Regions from separate parts of the Homo sapiens genome. Here region 1 is linked to region 2. Evidence: promoter capture Hi-C in human tissues and cell types (Jung and others, 2019). All regions are on one chromosome and are shown on one strand. The core of a region is centred on a gene start or on the middle of the fragment in contact, and the rest is flanking DNA. Distances in the headings are between cores, read along the strand shown. Region 1 overlaps SLC7A14-AS1 (SLC7A14 antisense RNA 1). Region 2 holds the start of CLDN11 (claudin 11).

The links. Contacts are between HindIII fragments. The study calls those that stand out against the background at their distance.
Region 1: a contact is called between a fragment that was not itself captured here and the fragment with the promoter of CLDN11 in region 2, in 2 of the 25 tissues and cell types used here (adrenal gland and mesendoderm cells).

The regions. Positions count from the first base shown.
Region 1 is chr3:170,649,969-170,655,198 of GRCh38, reverse strand. All of the region lies in intron 2 of SLC7A14-AS1 (SLC7A14 antisense RNA 1), which reads right to left. It also overlaps the pseudogene RPL28P1. Among named protein-coding and RNA genes, the nearest start is that of SLC7A14, 67 kb to the right of the region's middle. The HindIII fragment of the contact is 4,972 bases long and covers 268-5,230 here.
Region 2 is chr3:170,417,258-170,422,346 of GRCh38, reverse strand. It overlaps CLDN11 (claudin 11), which reads right to left and starts at 3,479. Exons shown (of 3, transcript NM_005602.6): 1 at 3,055-3,479. The coding sequence starts at 3,280. RefSeq lists an enhancer at 2,779-3,731. The HindIII fragment of the contact is 16,199 bases long and covers 1-5,089 here.

The DNA.
Region 1 (5,230 bases), core at 1,504-4,003, 230 kb before region 2:
AAGGAGGTGGCAGCCAGTCAACCAATAGGTTCTAGGTGGTGAGGACGGAGCAGGGAACAAAATCACAGAAACCCTATCTTCCTGGAACCTACATTTCTCACTGAGAAGCAAAGGCTGGTGGCCCAACCCAAGTCTGAAGGGTTCACTGTGGCACAACGAGGCACTCAGACTCTGGGTTTGACTCCTCTTTGCCTCTTACATCTGTGTGACATTACGCAGGCCATTTACTTCTCCAGATCTCAATTTCCTCATCTGTAAAATGGGGTTAATAAGACCAGCAGCCTCAGTGGGCTGCGGCGAGGATTTTGTCAGTAAAGTAAAGCACTAAGAACAGCATGTGACTCACAGTAAGCAAGGTAAGAATTTCTTTGCTATTGTCCTGGACACTGCCCTTACAAAATTGCCAGGAGTGTGCAATGCTTGCACTGCAGAACATTTTAAAGAGGCCACCCAGGGCCTGCCAGCTTGTGTTCCATCAGTGGTGACAAATTTCTGCCTGGCCTCAGACAGGTCGCCAATTGTTCTCAGCCTCCATCCCCTTCCCCATTCCTGGGGTGGAAGAGGAGCAGATGATGCTGGCCCACTCAGGAGGTCCTAGGAGGCAATCTGAGGTCACCACAGAAGAGTCAAGGCAGGAGATTCCAGGCTAGCCATGGAAAGAGGTGGCAAGGCTTCATCTGGCAGGGTAAGCAGGAGCTCCGGGCTCACAGAGGTTACATATGCGCCTCTGAACATCTTGGGTGGCATCTGGAGCTGTTGTGTCATGATTTACTGAAAGCTGTACTTAAGTTAAATCAAGGTTGGAAAGGCTAATGAATGAACTCCTACCATTTAAAAAAAAAATAGTCGCCTTATTTTGATGAAGTTGGGATAGGAACAAGCAAGAAGAGTATCCAGCTCCTTCCGTCTCCGGCGTTCGCTGTGAGAGGAGCTGCCGCCATGTCTGCGCATCTGCAATCGGTGATCATGCGGAACTGCTCCAGTTTCCTGATCAAGAGGAATAAACACACCTACAGCACCGAGCCCAATAACTTGAAGGCCCGCAACTCCTTCCCGCTACAACCGGCTGATTCACTGCAAGACTGTGGGCGTGGAGCCGGCAGCCCATGGCAGAGGTGTCCTGGTGGTCACGAAGCGGAGATCCGGCCAGCGGACGCCTGCCATCTCCTACGTGCGGACCATCATCAACAAGAACGCTGGAGCCAAACTCAGCAGCATCAGATACATGATCCGCAAGAACAAGTACCGCCCTGACCTGCCATGGCTGCCATCAGCAAGGCCAGCGCCATCCTGCGCAGCCAGACGTCTGTGATGGTGAAGAGGAAGCTGACCAGCCCCACAAAGAGCTTGTGAGTTGCCTGCCCCCGAGCAATAGTCGGCTGGCTTTCTCACAAAAGGAAGAAGAAGAAGGAGGAGAAGGGAGAAAGGGGAAAGGGGAAAGGGGAAAGGGAAGGGGAAGGGGAAGGGGATGCAGTGTCCTGCAAAAAACTCAAGAAGACTTTTACTATTTGCGCTGATTTGTCATCCCCTAGGCATAGTCAGAAATAATATGAATGTCCGGCCACCTTGAAAGCCCTTGCAGTGTTTAGAAAATCTGTACTCTCCAATATGACAGCCACAAGCCACATGCGCCTATTGAGCACTTGAAAAGTGGCTCCTTGAGATATGCTGTATGTGTACACTCTGGATTCCAAGACTTAGTATGGAAAAAAAAATGTAAATATCTCATTAACAATTTTTATTGATTACGTATTGAAATACTAATATTTTCATATATTGGCTAAAATAAAATGTATTACTAAAATTAATTTCATCCATTTTTCTTTTTTTATGTGGCTACTAGAAAATCTACACATGGGGCTTGCTTGATATTTCTATTGGATGGTGAAGTTTAAACAGAGAATGGTGCTCATGGGGTCTGCCTTTCCCAGTGGTGCCAGCAAAAAGACTTTGCAGTGGAGAAAACCCTGGGCCAGGAGACTGCAGATCCAATTGATCACTTCACCTCAGCCACCAAGTTGCTGGATGGCTTTGGTAACAATAGTGATAGTAGCAAACACTTCCATAGTTTTTTATGTATATATGGAGGCCAGGTGCTGTTCTAAACATTTGACACATGTAAATTTCTCACTAAAACTCTATGAGATGATAGAAGCTATTATTAGCTCCATTTTCTGTATGTGGACACTGAGGTGTTAAGAGGTTAAATCACAAGCCCTAAGCTCACGACTGGAAATTGGTAGAGTTAGGATTCAAAGCCAGGCAGTCTGGTTCCAAGGTCTGTGTTGTAAACCACCTCTTACCTCAAGTAATCCAAACTCGCTTGGATTCAGTTTCTTCGTCTAAGAAACAAGGTTCAGAAGACGACAAGGGTGACCGCAGGCTGTGTAGATGTAAGCTGGCAGAAGCTTAGGAAAGGAAATTACATTGAAAGAGCTTCCCATCCACAAAGCTACTAAAACCCAAACCCAGTGCTTACAATAATGTCTTCCCAAATGCCCCCAAATGAAATTAACTTTTTCTCTTCTTATGCTTCATAACATTCTGATACATTACAGTCCTTCACACATCTTATCTTTCATTGCACACACACACACACACACACACACACACACACACACACACACACGTGTATATATATCCATTTCCTTCATTACTGTTCAGATTTTTTAAAGGCAGGCTGTCTTACAGATCAGTGCTTTTTAACTGGAGGTTAAAATTTTGCTCCCAGAGGACATTTGGTAATGTCTGGAGAAAGTTTTGATTAACACAACTTGTGAGGTTGGAGGTATGTTGCTACTATCATCTAGTGAGTAAAGATAAAAAATGCTGCTAAGCATCCTACAAAGCGCAGGACAGCCCCCTACAACAAAGAATTATCTGGGCCAAAATCTCCATACTTCCAAGAGTGAGAAACCCTGTCCTTCATTAGATCATTAGATGATCCATTGTGCCTAAAACATGCATGAAACAATAGGCACTCCATAAGTGACGAAAGATTGATTGATTGATTGATTGATTGATTGAAAGAATAATAAATACATATTCACCTATCTGCCCTGAATGTAACTTCCTTTTGGTTAGGCTCATCAAATATGTATTCAATGCCCACTATATGCCAGGCACATTCTAGGGCTGGGGGATAGGGGAATGCAAAGTTCTGAGGCACACGAGGCCCCTGTCCTCAGGGTAGGACAGTCTCCTAGGGGAGTCAGAGTCAAAGCAGTGTGTCAAACGTTAAGTGCCCTCAATCTCGCCAGCTCTGGACAGGAGCACCACACAGAAACTTTGTGAAGACAGATGACCCAGCCAATCCTGGAGATACTCATCATTTTTTCTCAATCTTTATTTTGAAAAATGTCAAACATACAGAAAATGTGGAATAACAGTACAATACACATATATATATACATAGTAACATTTAGATAGATAGATAGAGAAATATAAATACACACAAAATGCTTTGGAAAATAAGATGCAGACATTATGACCTCAGCCAAATACATCAGCATGCATAGGACAGACCTGCTGATTTAATCAGTCTGGAGTGGGGCCTTGGCATCACTAGTTTAAAAAATTCTCCATTTGGGTAAGGGCCAAGATAGCCGAATGGGAACAGCTCTGGTCTGCAGCTCCCAGCGAGACCAATGCAGAAGGCAGGTGATTTCTGTATTTCCAAATGAGGTACCAGTTCATCTCACGGAACTGGTTAGGCAGTGGATGCAACCCACAGAGAGCAAGCAGAAGCAGGGCGGGGCATGGCTTTACCTGGGAAGTGCAAGGTGGCAGGGGACCTGCCTCCCCCAGCCAAGGGAAGCCATGAGGGACAGTGCTACCCGCCCCGGGTACTATGCTTTTCCCACAGATCTTCGCAATCCACAGATCAATAGATTCCTTTGTGAGCCTACACCACCAGAACCCTGAGTTTCAAGCACAAAACTGGGTGGCTGTTTAGGCAGGCACTGAGCTAGCTGCAGGAGATTTTTCATATCCCAGTGGCACCTGGAACCCCAATGGGACAGGAGAACCGTCCACTCCCCTGGAAAGGGGCCTGAATGAAGTTAGGGAGCCAAGTGGTCTCACTCAGCAGGTCCCACTCCCACAAAGCCCAGCAAACCAAGAACCACTGGCTTGAAATTCTCACTGCCAGCGTAGAAGTCTGGAGTTGACCTGGGATGATGGAGCTTGGTGAGCAGAGGGGTATCCACCATCACTGAGGCTTTAGTAGGCAGTTTTCCCCCGACAGTGCGAAGGAGACTGGGAGGTTTGGACTGGGCAGAATTCACCACAGCATGGCAAAGTGGCTGTGGCCAGACTGCTTCTCTAGATTCCTGTCACCGGGCAGGGCATCTCTACAGGAAATGCAGCAGCCCCAGTCAGGGGCTTACAGATAAAACTCTCATCTACCTGGGACAGAGCACCTGGTGGGAGGGGCGGCTGTGGGCCCTGCTTCAGCAGATTTAATCTTTCCTGCCTGCTGGCTCTCAAGTGAGCAGCTGATCCTGACAAGGGAGATTCTCCCAGCACAGCACACCAGCTCTGCTAAGGGACAAACTGCCTCCTCAAGTGGGTCCCTGGCCTCCGTGCCTCCTGACTGGGAGAGACCTCCCAACAGGGGTCGACAGACACCTCATACAGGAGAGCTCCAACTGGCATCTGGCAGGTGCCCCTCTGGGATGAAGCTTTCAGAGAAATAAGCAGGCAGCAATCATTGCTGTTTTGCAGCCTCCACTGATGATACCCAGGGGAAGAGTGTCTGGAGTGGACCTCCAGCAAACTGCAGCAGACCTGCAGAAGAGGGGCCTGACTGTTAGAAGAAAAAATAACAAAGAGAAAGCAACAACAAAAACAACAAAAAAGACCCGCACACAAAAACCCTATTCAAAGGTAATCAGCCTCAAAGATCAAAGGTAGATAAATCCAGGAAGATGAGGAAAGACCAGTGCAAAATTCTGAAAATTCGAAAAGCCAGAATGCCTCTTCTTCTCCAAATGATTGCAACTCCTCTCCAGCGAGGGCACAAAACTGGTTGGAGAATTAGATTGAGAAATTGACAGAAGTAGGCTTCAGAAGGTAGGTAATGACAAACTCCTCTTAGCTAAAGGAGCATGTTCTAACCCAACGCACGGAAGTTAAGAAATTTGATAAAAGGTTACAGAAATGGCTAACTAGAATAACCAGTTTAGAGAGGAACATAAATGACCTGATGGAGCTGAAAAACATAGTACAA
Region 2 (5,089 bases), core at 2,230-4,729:
TAATTTATTTAGTGCTTAAAACAGTGCCTATACCAAATCCTCAAAAAAGGTTAGTTGTTATCATTGGTGTTCTTTGTCTGTCTCAGTGCAGCGCTTTCATCTTCAGGTGTCCTAGGTGATTTTCTCCTAACCATGTGCTTTCATTCACATTGGCTGTGGCCCTAACCCAGACTAAACTAAGACTCAGGCTTCCTCTCTTTGCTGTCTCCCCAGAGGCTGCTGTCCTCATGGATCCTGCCCCTAAATTGTTGGACCCCATCTCCTGCCTCACCCACAGTGCCCTGGGCATCCTTCCCCAACTGTCCATCATTGCTTAAAAGGCATCTCTCCAGCCCTCAGGGTTCCTGGAGGGCAGACACCTGCCTTGGTATTCACGGAGTTAACACAGTGCCCACAACAGATCATGGAAACAATTGCGAATCAAGGAATAAGAGAACTGAAAAATAGAAGAGTAGAGCAAAACTACATGAACTTTATCCTGTCAAGTAAAATGCCAAGTAAAAACTGTATTAAGAAACAGATTACAATATGTGTCACATTTATTTAGAATAAATCTGACAAGATACTGGGAGAATTTCACAGACAAATTTGTTTCACTTTCAAATGTAATGTTTCTCATTAAAACTCTCCCTCCTCTTAAAAAAGGTGGGGGGGGTCACATTTATTACCCTCCCTTTTTTGCTCAGAAGGAACTAGTACTAGTGGCCTGGGTGAGGCAGAGTTCATAGCAAAGCCAGGAATCTAGCCGACATCTGCCTCACACACCACGACCCTCACGTGCAAAAAGGCCTAACTTCAACGCTGTCTCTTAGCAAGGAACGTTTTGCCAGAATTCGGACTTCACAAGGGCCCTCTTCCAGCACTGCCCATCTCAGCTCCTTCAGAATTAAAGATAATCAGTCAAGTGTCTACTGACTTGAAGATCTCCAGAAAGGAGCTCCAGGAAGTCTGAGGCCCATCCCCTGACCCAGCCGTCCGCCTCTGCGGCTTGTAGAGAGCCAGTACTCACACAAAGCAGGCAGTCAACTGGCAATGCAGGTTCTGAAATCCATGGCACTGGCTGTCCACATGCTACAGTGCCAAGGCCATGTCCGGACACCAAAAGATAGGGACAGAGGACTGTTCCTGCCTCCACCCAAAGTATGAGGGAGGGGGAAGGCAGGAAGGACTAGCGCCGCCCCCCACCCCCCCCCCACCCCCAGAGTATGCACTCCCCTCTGGAGGACAGCCTTTGTTCTCTGAAAACAAACCACTTGGCACTGAATGCTCAGTAAAGTTAATTTCAGGAGAAGAAAACAAAGTTAATTTTATGCTTCAAAGATCCCTACAAATACCATGCCCAGCTTTTAATAAAATACTATAGGTACCATTCATGAAGCATCTACTATCTCAAAGGAGATTACATTTCTTATCTCATTTAATCCTCAAATAATCGTGAAAGATGGGTGGTTGATCTGATTTTAACTTTTAAAAGAAGACAACCGTGGTTCACTGAGGCTAGCAATTTGTCCCCCCTCACCCAGATTGTGAGTCCTGGATGCCGGAGGCTGGCCCGGGTCTGCCAACACCAGCATTAGCCAAAGCTGAGTCTAGATCTGCGTTCGTTGACCTCTGGCCTTCTGAAAGTTCAAAATGAAGGAAAGGATAGCGTAAGGCAAACCAGGCAAGCACTGCCCGCAGCTATTGTGTGCCAGAGGCCATGCCAGGTCCAGAAGAGGAAGCAAAGAGAATAACAGGACGCCATCTCTATCTTCAAGGAATTTAAAACGTAGTGGGAGAACTTCACTCACGAACAATCAACAAAAAACAAGATAAAATGTGCCTTTGTGAGGATAAGAGCCAAGTACTAGGCAGCAAGGAGAAAGGAGGGATTCAGATTCCGACTGCGAGGACCGGAAATAGGGCGTGCTTGGAGGAGGCTTAAGGGGCGAGCACAGTCTTATCTGACTGGCGGCTTCAGGGACAGGTTTCTCCCCATCTTGAGGAAACCGGGAAAATCCTTTAAGTGAGCACAATCCACGAAGGCTGGGGGACAGAAGCCCACCTTGTAGGGACATGCCTTGGGGGTAGAGCAGAGATTCCAGCAGAAAACCAAGGGGGTGCCCGCGACCTCGCCATTGCCCAACCCATTGGTTTAAATCTGAATTGAGGCTGTCGCCCAAAATGTTTCCACAGGACACATGTGAAAATGTGGCCCCTGGCCGGCGCTAGGCTGTCAATTTTTACCTCCCCTTCCCAATCTGAGACACGCTGGAGGGGTGGCGGCGAGCGACCCTCGGCGGCGCGCTCCGTATCTCCCCAGTGGAGTCCGCCCTCCGAGGAGCGCCCGCTCGTCCCTATCCAACCCAGCGGCGCGGAGCGGGAGCCGGCGTCACCGCAGCCCCGCAGTCTGACGCGCCCACAGCAGGGGCGGGGGTAGCGGGGGCAGCGGAGATGGCCCTGGGCACGTGCGGGAATCAACGTGACATTTCCCAAACCAGGCAGCCCAGAGAGCCCTGGACGTGAATTGCTCAGCGGCTGCGCGGACGGAGCTAGGAGGGCTCTAACCTGGCCGGGGGCGCTTCGCCCATCCCATGAGGACCGAGAAACTCAGCCTGAGCCGGTTCGATTCTCCTGTCAGCTTGTGTTACACGCTCCTTCTCACCTCTGCGGGCGGAACCTAACGCGAAGGCTCGGCGCCCCGGGGGAGGCCGGGCGGGAGCGGGAAGCACTTCGGGAAGCGGACGGTGGAAGGATGCGGGCTGGGACCGCAGTAATTAACACGGACTCAGTTCCTATTAGGTGTTCCGGTTTGTTCATTCTCAAAGGGACCCGGCCAGTGTTACCACCGGCCACATTGCCACTATTATCTCAAATTCCAGATAAGAATACTGCGGCCTAGAGAAGTTAAGTTCGGGGCTGCCTAATTCTTTTACAACAAGGTGGGACTAGGGATGTCAAAAACGTACCCAAAGGTCTTCAAGCCCCCAAAATGTCTCTGTGACGCCGTCTAATATCCCGCTCTCTACCCAGAGGATAAGGATTTGGGAGCCGCCGCCAAGCTCGGGTCCTTACCCGGCAGGATGAGGATGTCCACCAGGGGCTTGCAGTGGTACAGCCCCGTGGCCATGACGCAGTCGGCCCACAGCCCCTTGGAGCCCAGCTCATCCAGCTTGCGGCAGGTGGGGATGGTGTAGCCGCAGGTCACCACCCAGTCATTGGTGGAGGTGGTCACGATGACCCCGATCCAGCCCACGAAGCTCGTGACGAAGCCCACCACCTGCAGGCACGTGGCCACCATGGTGGCCGCCAGGATGTCCCCGTGCCTCGCCCCTCACGGCTGTGCCTGGGCCTGGGCTGGACAGTGCCTGCCCAGGTACGTCTCCCACGCTCGCGAGCCGCTGGAGGGCGACGGCCCGAGGCGGGACACTGGAGGTGGAGGTGGGCGCCGGAGGCTGCGAGCTCAGCGGCGAAGGGCGCACGGCGGGGACAGCAGCGCTGCTGGGCAGCGCGCCCCCGCCCCCTCTTTAAGCCCCGCGGCTCCGGCCGGCGAGCACCAATCGGCGGCAGCCCCGGGGCGCGCCGGCCAATCGCGGGGCGGGGCCGGGAGGGAAGCGTGAAGGGGAGCAGAGTAACCCCAGGGGGGCCATTGGGCCGCCCCACCCCGTCCGCAGCGCAGTCCGGCGATGCAAAGTAAAACAATTCCATCCAGGTCCAGAGAAACGGAGAGCGCAAAGAGGGCGTGCGTTTGTCGAGAGTTCTGTTTTCCTGCGACTGGTTTCTCTTCTTATAGCCCCTCTCTCATCTCAGTCTCTGGGTGTCCATTCCGCTCCGACCCTCCTCAGCTCCTCCCTGCTCGCTCCTTCTTCCCTGCTGCGAGCACTCCAAGGGCGCTCGGTACAGTCCCCCGACGACCCAGGATTGTGACAGACTGAAAAGTGCAGTAGGGACAAACGCGAGGCATTCAGTACACACAGTTACTAGAAGAAAGAAAACGATGCTTTTCAGTGGTTGAACATCATCAGCGGCAAACGTGGCCATAATAATCAACAATAGCAACTCACATTTATCGAGCTGTGTTATATATTATGCAGATGCATTTTACATGCATTAGCTCATTTAATCCTCATAACAGCCTTTGAGGTAGGAACAATTGTCAATGACACATACTAGGCCGGGAGTGGTGGCTCACACCTGTAATCCCAGAACTTTGGGAGGCCAAGGTGGGCGGATCACCTAAGGTCAGGAGTTCGAGACCAGCCTGACCAACATGGTGAAACTCCATCTCTACAGAAAATACAAAAATGAGCCGGGCATGGTGGCGCATGCCTGTAACCCCAGCTGCTTGGGAGGCTGAGGCAGGAGAATAACTTGAAGGAGGTTGCAGTGCGCCAAGATCGTGCCACTGCACTCCAGCCTGGGCAACTGAGTGAGACAACGTCTCAAAAGCAAACAACAACAACAACAACAAATTACACGCACTAGCCATAGAGAAACAGCACAAGAAGGTTGAGTTGCCCAAGTTCACGCAGCTAGGAAGGGGTAGATACCATGGGCCCATCTCATCCCTTTCACGAACTGTTTCTAGGAAACTGTCCTGATCAGTCTGAAAATTCCTAAGGGGTTCATGTGTCCCATTTTAGACGCATTAAAAGCTACAGCAGACTTCTCTGGCTCACTGTAAATAAATTAATATCTGTACCCCACTGAGAAAACTGCCTAGCCCAGAATGAGCGCTCTGATAGTGTAAAGCTATCATCATCACCATCAACATCATTAAGCCACCATGCATACAAATAGGCCGCATTATTTGCACCTTTTTATTCAGATAGGGAAGTCTTCCTTGAGCTGCATTTACATTCAACAGTTTTCACTCCCTTTGAAACATTTGGCTTATCTTATTATCTCCTTCTATCCATTCCCTTGGACCACTGCCTCCTCACCAATCATGAGACTTAAAGGTGTGAGGATTTCAGAAAGCACAAAAACTTCCTGCTCAGCGTTCTAAAATCTAAGATACTAACCATAAATCATAGGTACTGAGCTTTCCCAAAGCCAGCCCTAATGCTGGTTATCAGTGCAATCACCATGTCTTCTAGGAAAGCCTGGA